4 separate regions of the Homo sapiens genome follow, and all the other regions are linked to region 4. Evidence: promoter capture Hi-C in 16 types of primary human blood cells and fetal thymus (Javierre and others, 2016). All regions are on one chromosome and are shown on one strand. Each heading gives the region's core, a stretch centred on a gene start or on the middle of the fragment in contact. The rest is flanking DNA. Distances are from core to core; before and after follow the strand shown.

Region 1 (2,700 bases), core at 92-2,591, 3.1 Mb before region 4:
GAGACAAGAGGCACTGGGGCCAGAAAAGCAGACTAAGCAAGAAGTGATACAATCAGGTCAACGTCTGGGCTGAGAGATATAAGATAGATGCCAAAGCCAGAGGAGCAGAGTGTGAAACAGGGAGATAAAATGGAGCAGAGCCTGCTTTGAAATGCAGAGATGCGATTGAAAGAGGGAGGATGTACAGCAACAGAAAAGGCAGCAGGTGATTAATAGGCATTTTCTGGATGCAAAAATTAATAAATAAAAGAATAACTTATAAGGGATAAATGAGAGAGTGGCAACAAAACCATATTTAAACATTTGCAACCTGGGTAACTGGCAAATTATTAGTATGATTTAATAGAATTAGAGAATTCGGAAGAAAATGAAAGCTTGAGTAGTGCACATCGAAATGCATTTTGGATGGGACATTTAGCCATCAATGTTTAACAGGCAATTGAAAATGTATGGAGCTCAGAAGAAAAGTAGATACTGGAGTCTGCAGCTTACAAAATGCTTTACAATATTTTACCTTATTCTCTAAAATAACTAATAAAAAAACTGGGGTTGAGAAAAGTTGAGTAACCCCCACAAAGTGGCACAGTTAATGGGTGGATAACCTAGAATTTGAATTCAGGCTTCTTACCATAAAGTTGAGTGACTTCCCCAAAGTGGCACAGTTAATGGGTGGATAATCTGGAATTTGAATTCAGGCTTCTTATCATAAAGTTCAGTGGTGGATAATCTAGAATTCGAATTCAGGCTCTTACCATAAAGTTCAGTGCTCATTTTATTACATTTTACTGCCTTTCATATAAGAACGAGCAAATCATCTAAAGAAAAAGAGGGTGTCAGATACAGGATTCTATTTGGGCTGCAAATATGATAATGCCTTATGCTAACGTGCATAGCTTCGGGTGACAACAAACTGAAATTTATCAAAAACAGGTTGACCTCCCCCTTGTGAAGGATTTTTTTTATTCATTCCAAGAGTTGCTTGCTTATTGCAATTTTGCCTGCTGGTGTGGACATAGCTGAGAGCATCACCTGCCTGCCAAAAAAAGTAAATATGCTGGAAGCTGTTAAGTGGATTAAAACTTGGTACCACAAAGTAGTGCCCAATAACATAGTCAGAAATTCCACCTCAGCCAAAGATGTTCCTAAAAACTCAAAAACAAAAAGGAGAGGAAAGAACATTTTAGGAGGATTTATGAGGTAGAAGATACGAAGAAATTATACAATATACAAGCAAAGAAAACAAATTTTTGAAAATTTGCCAGATAGCTGGAAGCCAAAATTGTGAAAAGAAAAATCCCTATGAGAACTGCTAGTTTTATAAAATATTCTGGGAATTTAAGAAAAGGTAAATTAAATAAATTATGCATTAGTTATATTATAATTATGCTGCTGAGCTGGCATCCTTATTTTCTCCAAATTCTATCAATCAGTCAAAGAAAGTCACAGTGCATGGTCAGATTCAAAGTCACATTGCAATGGATGTAAACACAGACACCAAGAACAATTGCAGTCATTTTGTTGTCAGCCTGCAACTACCAGTAACCAGTGGTTTGATTTCAGGCAGTTCATTTCTCTTGGCCTCAGTTTCTTTATCTCCAAGATATGACTTAGGACTTTCTCTGTAGGATTCCTTACACTCCTCTGTTCCTAAAGCAACAACTTTCAAAACTGCCTTACAGGCAAATTAGAGGACTTTTCTGTATCTCAAAAAATACATATATATATAAACAAAGTGACATGTAGTTGCTTCAGTACGTGTAAAGTTACTTATTAAAAAGCAAAAATGCCATATAGAACATAAAAAGTGAAATAGGAAGATGAAATAAAATCAAACAACATTAAGTTACTATTGCAAGTCGCAAATGATTGAAGATGGCTTGTTTAGCTGTTTGCCAACACTAAACCAAATTGTCCACTTCATGTCCTAAATGGCCCAGCTTGGCACTGGATCATAACCCATATTCCACTTTATAGATTTTTCTTCATCAGTAATTCAGGGTGTGAAAGTGATCGATATTAGAATTACTCAGACTGTTAATATCGTTTAAATTAAATGGTTAATTGCTTCATTTTCTATTTTACTTGGACCATGAAGATTGAACCAATTTTATGAAGCCCAAACTTTAGACAAGCAGGTAGTAAGTGAAGGAAGTCAGTCACCAGCCAACAGCACTTCCTGTTTTCATATGCGGATAAGCAGACTCTCGTTAGAAACCCCAACTGCCAGAGAAGACAAAATGCTTTACTTCTCTCAGACTGACGAGGAAACAGTGGCTAACATAGAAATTGTTATTGTCCAGAAATAAAAACAAGCTTTCTTTAAATGCTAAGGAAAAAAATAAAGATTTAGTATTTTCCTCTGGTTTCATTTGCAAACATCTGTATGCACTGTTTTTCTTCAGGATACACAGTTGAAATGTCATATTACTGGAATCTGGAGATCACTTTGATTAAATTTTGCCTTGCATAAAGCAGGCTAAAAGAAGTTAACCCTAACTGCCTCCACCAATAAGAAAGAATGTATCTGAATTCAGCACAAATGGAAACTTGTAATGTTCTACAGTCAGGTGAGAATGAGGAAATGCTCAGATCTAAAAGGAGCTGTTGCTGTAAGGAAACCATTTCCTTGATATCTGCATGTTCATCATCTTAAGTCTCAGGCCCCCAGACAGCTGTCTCTTCAACTTCAGGAAATTAGAC
Region 2 (2,700 bases), core at 91-2,590, 3.4 Mb before region 4:
CAAAAAACAACAAAGTAATAAACCTAAGAAATGCAGGGAGCAATTTTTTTTTCTTTGAAAACGGATGAAAAATTTGAACATTTTTATGGCTAGGTTTATTCAATAAGCAGCACTGATACAACTGTCTATTTTGAAACTAAATAATGGCCGGCATGGTGAAATCCCGTCTCTACTAAAAATACAAAAATTAGCCAGGCGTGGTGGCACACGCCTGTAATGCCAGCTTGGGAGGCTGAGGGAGGAGAATCACTTGAACCTGGGAGGCAGAGGTTGCAGTGAGCCAAGATCATGCCATTGCATTCCAGCCTGAGAGACAGAATGAGACTGTCTCAAAAAAAAAAACAAAAACTAATTCATTTAGAATTTCACTTCATTTAGAATTTCACTTCATAACTTCCAAGAAAAACTCCACATGGAAAAAAGCTTTAAATGTTTAAAAGAAAAAAAAAGCAGCGAAATCCAAACCAACAAATACATAAACGTATTAAGAGGGAAAAAAAAGTAGCAGTGGATAGGATGGGATAGGCTACAGTAAACATGATAAGAGTCTAAAATCAAAAATTTAAAACTTTGACATCCAGCTCAAAAACATCAGTGAAAAAAAAAAGGTAAGGAAAAGATAACAAAAACATATAATGAAGGTCTTTTATAGCTCACTAAGGAAAAGAAAAACACACCAAAACAAAAAAGGACAAAGAAAAATGGACCATAAAAGAAAATTAAAATATCAATAAAATTCTAAAAATTCTGATCTCACTAAAAAAAATCAAAATAAATAAAAATTAATACAGGATACTATTTTTCACTTATCTGACTGTTAAAGATTAAAAAAAATAACTAGCGAAGATACAGCCACTCTAAAAAATTATGGTTAAGAGCATATAACCTTTCTGGTGAGCAAACCAGAAAAATAAATCAAAAGCCTTAAAAACGTACACATTTGACCTATCAATTAGACTTCTAGCATTCAAGTTAGGAAACTTTCAGAGAAGTGTACAAAGATAAGTAAGGATATTACCGGAATCTCCAACATTAGTGAAAAACCACAAAAAAGTACACTGATAGAGACTAGTCTAATTAATAATGGAATAGTCATTCCACAAAATCATTAAAGATAATGACATGATCCTATTAATTATCCATGACATATTAAATAGCAAAAAATAGCACACCTGGTATGTTCTCTTTATATGTATATAAATATGTACACATACACACACAGAATATCTATCTATGGTACACAGGGCTTCATCAACCTTCCTGCTACCTTGAAAGAGCTAAGCAAGACATGCTGAGGATGGGACAGCAAGAAAATGGCAAGGCCTTAAGTACCTGTTAGCATTATGGAGTCAGTGATTAACTGATCCTATAGCTGCTGTGGAATTTCTGGTTATGTGAGATAACAGAACTTTCATGTATTAATAGATAAAACTAGACGAGATAGAATGTTTTGTGACATGAAGCCAAAGCATTAACTAAAAGAGTACACTAAAATTAATATAGATTTTAGATTAATCACTTACCTTAAATGGGTATCTGCCAATTTCAGCCTCCAACTCTTCTGCGGTAAAAATCTTGCCTATGAATCTTTTGGCATCATATATTGTGTTTTGAGGATTTGAATCTGCCAGCTCTACGCTTTCATATCCCACATATACATCATTGTCAGTAAAAGACACCATGCTGGGTATGCTGATATGCCCATTTTCATCTGGAATCACCTTTACTTTTCCTGTGCCAGGAAAAAACACCCCAACAGAACAATAGGTGGTGCCAAGATCAATACCAATCACTTTAGGAGTAGGCAATGGTAAATACTGTTGTGCCAAATAGCCGGCCAACAGGAGAGTCAAAACAGCCGATCCTGAAATAAAGGAAAATTAAAAGATGTATTTTATCAAACTAGTACAATGTACTAAATTACTGTAGCAAAGTCCCTTTAATATCACTCGTTGAAACAAGGCTAAAAAAGACAAATTTCAAAATTTTTTATAGGACTGCTGATAGCACTCCTCTCAGACAGCAAGTTTTTCAAAATGTAAACTGGTTATAATAAAATTTAAAATGAAGTAAACACAAACAACAAAAAACCCTATAACTGTATGTTTGTGTCATTCTCTAATAAATGTAATAAAATGTAAAAATATTTCAATAATATTTGTGCAGATGCTGACAAGAAACAACATTTATCTGGAGCAAAAGCCAGATATAATCTAATATTCTTGATCAATTGATATTTAGATTTTACAGCTTTATAAAAAGCTTCGATTATCTTTTTTTAAAAGCTCCATTATTAAAATTCTCACAAGAAAAACTTTATTATTTTATAAGTCTAAAATTCTCTCCTCGTATCTCACCTCCTTTTCCCTTTCAAAAGGATGAAATGAATAAATGGGATAAAATGATTTTGAAAGTTCCTTAGATATGAAACTGTCACTTCAAAACAGAACACAGTTAACTTTTTATGTATTTAAGTATGAACTAGGGACTTCCTTCTTGCAGTGGTAATATTTAGGGGAGAAGAAGCATAAAGGTGGGCAACCCTGACGGCAACATCTATGAAAGCTTCTTGAAGACAAGTTTCGTTCACTGTTGTATCCCCCAGACCAGGAATAGCAGATGCCCAACAAATACTAATTTAAAAAAAAAAGAAAAAAGAGTAGGAACAAATGCCACGCAGATTGTAAACATAAGCGAAGA
Region 3 (2,700 bases), core at 195-2,694, 3.3 Mb before region 4:
CTAAATTGATTTTTAACAAATCCAGCATCTTGGTAGTCAAGGTAGTGACCTTATAAAGCTTCCTATAAAATACAATATCCAAATTTCCAAACAAAGGGGAGGCTACACTTCTGTCATTTCTCTAGCTATTCATCTGATCTTTCTGAATATTATCTGAACACTTTTCAAGTATAGCTAATACATTTGGCCCCAAACATTTTGCTACCTGCTTGGGATAAAACTTGATTACAGATTCATATTCTGTAAAACGGAAAAGCTAAAATGTATTAGTGCTTTGTTTGGAGAGAAGTGGTCAAGGCTAAAAATTATTTAAAAGGTGCACTACGAATTAAAATAAAATCCAATGGAAAATTATATGTTTAAGAAAGAAGAAGAAGAAGCCTTTGCAAAGTGAGACATCAATTTAGGGGTGAATTTCTGGTGACTGTAAACAATGGAATGAGGCCATTTCTCCTTGGCATGCAAGCACCAACTGGAAGCAAGAATGGGACCGGACAGTGGAAACTTTCTGTCTGCCATCTTTAGACAGCATGTAGTAAGTTACCTATAAACATCCAAATGGATAAAGTAAGTACAAATATATCCCAAATTTAGAGTCTTCTCAACACCAAAGTCAACTGGGCCGTTCCTTTGTCTGAACCACAGTTATCCCTTGCCTGGTTTCTGCAATAGTCTGTTAACTGGTCTCACTCCCTTCAGTATATTTGAAACACAAAAGCCAAAATAAACCCACTAAACTGTAGGCCAGATTCTGTCACTTCTCAAACATCTTTCAACACTAGCTAAAATTATTTTAATGGCCTAGAACGCCTTCAGTGATCCAGCTCTTTGCGGCGGCTCTTCCCGCTATGCACTCTGCCCCACTGCTTCTCAAACACACCAGAGACAGTCCCATTTCAAGGCCTTTGCACTTGCTCTTCCCTCTGCCCAGAGTACAGTTTCCTTCACCAATCCCAAGACCAGCTCCTTCACTTTCTTCCAGTCCTTTTTCCAATGTCCCATTCTCACCAAGGCTTCTCTAGTTCTTCATATTTCAAATCCTTCTTTTCTGTTAATTTTTTTTTCTTCTTGGCACCTATCATTATCTAGCATACTGTATATATTACTTATTTATCCTATTTATTGTCTGTCATCTCCAGCAAATATGGTATCTTTTGTTCACCTTGGTATCGCCAGTGTATTGTCCATAATAAGCATTTAATAGACATTTGTTGCGTTGAAGGATAAATGAATGAACGAATGCATGGATTAGTGAATTAACTTTTAAGTCTTTTGAAAAGTAGAAAAAAGTGCTGCCAGGTTGGAAAACTTTAAAAATTCTTGATGTCCAGTCACATTTTATATTAGGTAAATAAGAATATTTGGGGATGGAACCCAATCATCAGTTTTTTTTTTAAAGCTCTTTAGTGATTCAAATATTCGGCCTAGGCTCCAAAAACCATCAACCTAGAGCATCATTTCCAAATTATAAAGTGCTCACAGAACTGCTGAGTATCTTGTTAAAATGTATGTTTTCATTTCGTAGGCCTGGGGGAGACTGGAAAATGCACATGGCTAACAAGCTCCTGGAATGCCCGTGCTGTTGCTCTATAGGACCACAGTGAGTAGCAAGTTCTTAGATTCAAGTCAGCCTTGATGAACCTTGAGATACATTTTAACATGTTCTAGACTTCATTTTCTCCTGACTTGTCTTATTTGGTTTTATGTTTGCATTATAGTTTATCAAAAATACTTTTTAAAATGCTATAAATGCTACATAAACACAAAAATGAAGACAACCTTTTGAGATATCTGGTTTTTTGTTTTGTTTTGTTTTTGGAGCGGACGGAGGTAATAACTAGAAGTTAAAATAAATATTTACTTATAGCCACCGTTTTTTAAAGGGGAAAAGAGTAAATCTAACATATTACCTACATTTTATATCATGTATTTTATTCCAGAAAACTCTGTTTGAAAAGGCAAACATTCAACAAAAATTGTACCCCAGATGAAGAAGTAATAGAGAGTAGGAGGAGAGAGACACAGGCTTAGAAGCAGAAAAACTGTGCCATAAATCCCAAATCTTTTAACTTGTGGAAAATTTTTGCATCTACAGGGCTTTTTTCTTCTTTGTAAATTGGAGATAAAAATAATGTCTACCTCCTGGGGTTTTGAGAAGATTAAACATAATAATGGACATGAGCACCTTGGACAAGTACCTGGCCTCAAGTAAGCACCAGTGCATATAAATACTTATTCTCTTTCTTATACCTGGTTAGATAAGAGTTAAAAATGTATCCTAGCAGTCTTGATACAAAAAAACAGTGAAGAAAGCTCTTTAATGGTACAACTATGTGTCATCCTTGTCTAGGAGCATAAATTTGCACAGCAGGCAGTGCAGTGAAAACAGCTCATAATCAACTCATCACCTCTCATCATTGCTAGGATCAAATGCAAATGGGAAAGAATGCCACTTCAGTCATTGCTAGTGAAAATTAGCATCTGTGACACTAATGGTGTCTCATTTAGTATGCACTTTAGATTAAAAAGAATGGTTAAAAAAAAGGCTATTTCCAGAACTGTCATTATTCTAACGTTTCCCTCAAAAATAACAATGGTACTTGAATCTCCTTTACTCAAAGAAAAACCTGCTAAAATTTATTAACACGGATCATTAATCCCTCTCAAGTAAAGGCCAAGATGTTCTAATTACAGTCACTA
Region 4 (2,700 bases), core at 201-2,700:
CATGTTCTCTTGTTAGAACTCAACTCTGTACCTGATACTTATATTTGCATACACAGTAATTGCATATTTGATTAAGAAAACTAACATAGGACTAAATTATAAGTTTACCAAACATTTGGATAAACTGCTGTGCAAAATACTTCAACAAAAAGTTTTTTTTACTAGGAACTCATCCAAATAAAGTAGTGTGAGTACCAGCACCACAAAGTTTTTTTTAAGAGCACCTCTCCTTTTTAGAGCTTAAGTAGAAATATCTAAATGGAATAAATCAGAGTCCCACTTAAGACCTTAGCACATGCACACGTTCATCCACTTGTTCCGTACTCATTAGCAAAGCTATGTATATTTGTCAGAAAACTCCTTTCTTTGGATAACACTGTTGTATTCAGGACTGCAACTTATGGCTCATATTCTGGAAATATGCTACTATTGATATCAAATGCAACATATCCCCAACTTTTATGACTGTCCCTAACTCATCTAAACACAAACCCAAATGTGTGCAAACACACTGGCTGGTAACAATCTTACTGAATTACGCCAAAAAAGAGTAAAGTCAAATTTGAAAATGTGGGAACAATTAAGCACTAAGATATTAATCAGGAAATGTATTTACCCAGCTTGTAAGTTTGAATATTTTGATATTGCACACATTTAATTTAAAGCTCATCAAAACTAAGGCAATGCATCCATACTCCCTGGATTTTAAATTCATTTTGCATGACTTAAAGAATTGAGAGAAATCGAAAGCATCTTTCAAAAATTCCCTCCAAAAAGTAATGTTATACTTCAAAGAAAAACAAAATCAACAGATATCAATTAATACCCTCAGGCCAATTTAACACGTCAGCATTACAAAAAGTTGTTTTCAATTAAACTGAAGTGTTTCTTTGCTTAAATACTTTCTTGTGTTCAACAACAAAATCTGACCCAAGCCAGGGTAGGCTGCCAAATTTAAGGCAAATGTCATTTATATCTTTATGCATGAAGCTGCCACGTTACTGGGCTTTTCAGCAGATACTTTCAAGCAAGGATCTACCTCATAAGTACATTCTAAACATGAGTTAAAAACAGAATTTAGAGCCCATTTTAATTCTGCATTGGTTATAGCCTTTACTGTAATACATTATTAAAATTTATCTAGCTGTTTGGCACAATCTGTTAGATAAAAACTCTTTGGAAGCATCATAGGCAACTTACGAGAACATTCTCTTAATACATAGGTTTATTTTTTTTTAATTAGGAGTTTTGCTTTTCTTCTGTAGAACAATCCTATATTTCTCTATAGAGTCTAAAGTTTAGAAAAATACCTCACAATGCTTTCTTTGAGCACTAAGTTCAATGATGGTGATAATACAATTTGGACAGTTTAAGTATTCTTGAAACTTTACCCAAAGTGGCACACAAAATAATCTTACTTTTTTTTTTCAAAGACAGAACAATTTCACAGCACACTCAATTTGAAGATAGACATTATATTTGAATTGGAAGTGAGGCTTGACTTACTCTGTCCAAATTCTAATGCATCACAGTCACTGGTGTGAAGCTAATAATGAAAGAAGCAAGAGGAGGCTTTCATTTCTATGGAGACAAATTGACATAGAAGCCAGATTAGTCTTTTCTTCCTGAACTAAGAACTGCTTTTGTTAGAAAACAAAATAATGTATTGTATTTACCTGAATACTGCTTTAAAAAGTTATTAATTCTTCTTTTACAAGAGGTATTAGAAATTAAAACAACTCAGATTTCTAATCCAAAATATATTTATCTTTGGAAAGCAAGGTAACCGTTGTGAAAACATTGTATTAAGAGAATAAAATGCAGTGACCTGAAATATGGGTGAACATATTCACACATGATAATGTAAATAAATATACAGAACCACTCAAATACACATTTATAAAGAGAATGGCAAAGTACCTAAAATAGCATTTTCACATATAAAATTTTTATATTAAAATATTGCTCATAATAAATAAGAGGTGATATGAATTCCATTTCCCTCTTAAAAATTATCTCTAGTAGTTTACACTAAGGAGTTAATCTGTTGTTTTGACAGGTGAATTAAAATGTTTAATAAAATGACACTGTAACAGTATATTTAAGTAGTCACATGTGATAAAATTTGTTTAGTAATTCTGGGAAAAAAGAGTCCCCAAATGAGCCAAAATGATTAGCCCTAGAAGACTAGAGTATAATGATCTGCTTTATTTGACAAAGATGTTAAATACTGCCTTATGTTTGGCAAATTTAATGACCATAAAAAAACGGACCACAACTTTCTTCAAACTTCTTCAAAGTTTGCATGTCTGGGAGACCAATAAAGGGCAGGGCATACGAAGTAAGTCTGTTTAGGTCAGTTGTTTATGGGTAGGTGCGACTTCATTCCTGTTCGCCCTACTTGCAGACATGGTAACTTAGAACAGTTCTTCAGAAGCTGTTCGATGGCAACGTGGCGGACATGGAGCTGTGAGGCCAAAGAATCTTTTTCTTGCACTTGGTGAGTTAACTCTTCAAAAACTTCTGTAAAAGATTTAAAAACTTTCATTTTTAGTATGCAGAAAGCCGGTGCTATGATTTATATTTCAAGAACTCTAACTGAAATCTATGCATTGGGCAAAGTGTCACAATGAAACTGATTTGATACCAAGGAAACAGTTCTGTTCTCTACAAAGCATATCAGTTCTGATCATCCTAGGC

What was found. Contacts are between HindIII fragments. The CHiCAGO score rates a contact against its expected background, and 5 or more counts as called.
Region 1: a contact is called between a fragment that was not itself captured here and the fragment with the promoter of C21orf91-OT1 in region 4, in 1 of 17 cell types (total CD4 T cells). The highest score is 8.1, in total CD4 T cells.
Region 2: a contact is called between a fragment that was not itself captured here and the fragment with the promoter of C21orf91-OT1 in region 4, in 1 of 17 cell types (total CD8 T cells). The highest score is 7.2, in total CD8 T cells.
Region 3: a contact is called between a fragment that was not itself captured here and the fragment with the promoter of C21orf91-OT1 in region 4, in 2 of 17 cell types (activated CD4 T cells and non-activated CD4 T cells). The highest score is 9.6, in activated CD4 T cells.

Annotation. Positions count from the first base shown.
Region 1 is chr21:14,673,763-14,676,462 of GRCh38, forward strand. No RefSeq gene overlaps it. Among named protein-coding and RNA genes, the nearest start is that of SAMSN1-AS1, 93 kb to the left of the region's middle. The HindIII fragment of the contact is 1,939 bases long and covers 373-2,311 here.
Region 2 is chr21:14,379,680-14,382,379 of GRCh38, forward strand. HSPA13 (heat shock protein family A (Hsp70) member 13) reads right to left here. Exons shown (of 5, transcript NM_006948.5): 2 at 1,524-1,864. Among named protein-coding and RNA genes, the nearest start is that of HSPA13, 2.1 kb to the right of the region's middle. The HindIII fragment of the contact is 1,839 bases long and covers 422-2,260 here.
Region 3 is chr21:14,536,321-14,539,020 of GRCh38, forward strand. The region is part of intron 1 of SAMSN1 (SAM domain, SH3 domain and nuclear localization signals 1); the gene reads right to left. LOC124905053 (a long non-coding RNA gene) reads left to right here. Exons shown (of 3, transcript XR_007067925.1): 2 at 1,526-1,600; 3 at 2,096-2,208. Among named protein-coding and RNA genes, the nearest start is that of SAMSN1, 8.6 kb to the right of the region's middle. The HindIII fragment of the contact is 2,777 bases long and covers 57-2,700 here.
Region 4 is chr21:17,791,059-17,793,758 of GRCh38, forward strand. C21orf91-OT1 (C21orf91 overlapping transcript 1) reads right to left here and starts at 1,451. Exons shown (of 4, transcript NR_038871.1): 1 at 1,419-1,451. C21orf91 (chromosome 21 open reading frame 91) reads right to left here. Exons shown (of 5, transcript NM_001100420.2): 5 at 1-2,523. The coding sequence ends at 2,357. The region is part of intron 2 of LOC124900465 (a long non-coding RNA gene); the gene reads left to right. The HindIII fragment of the contact is 3,892 bases long and covers 1-2,700 here.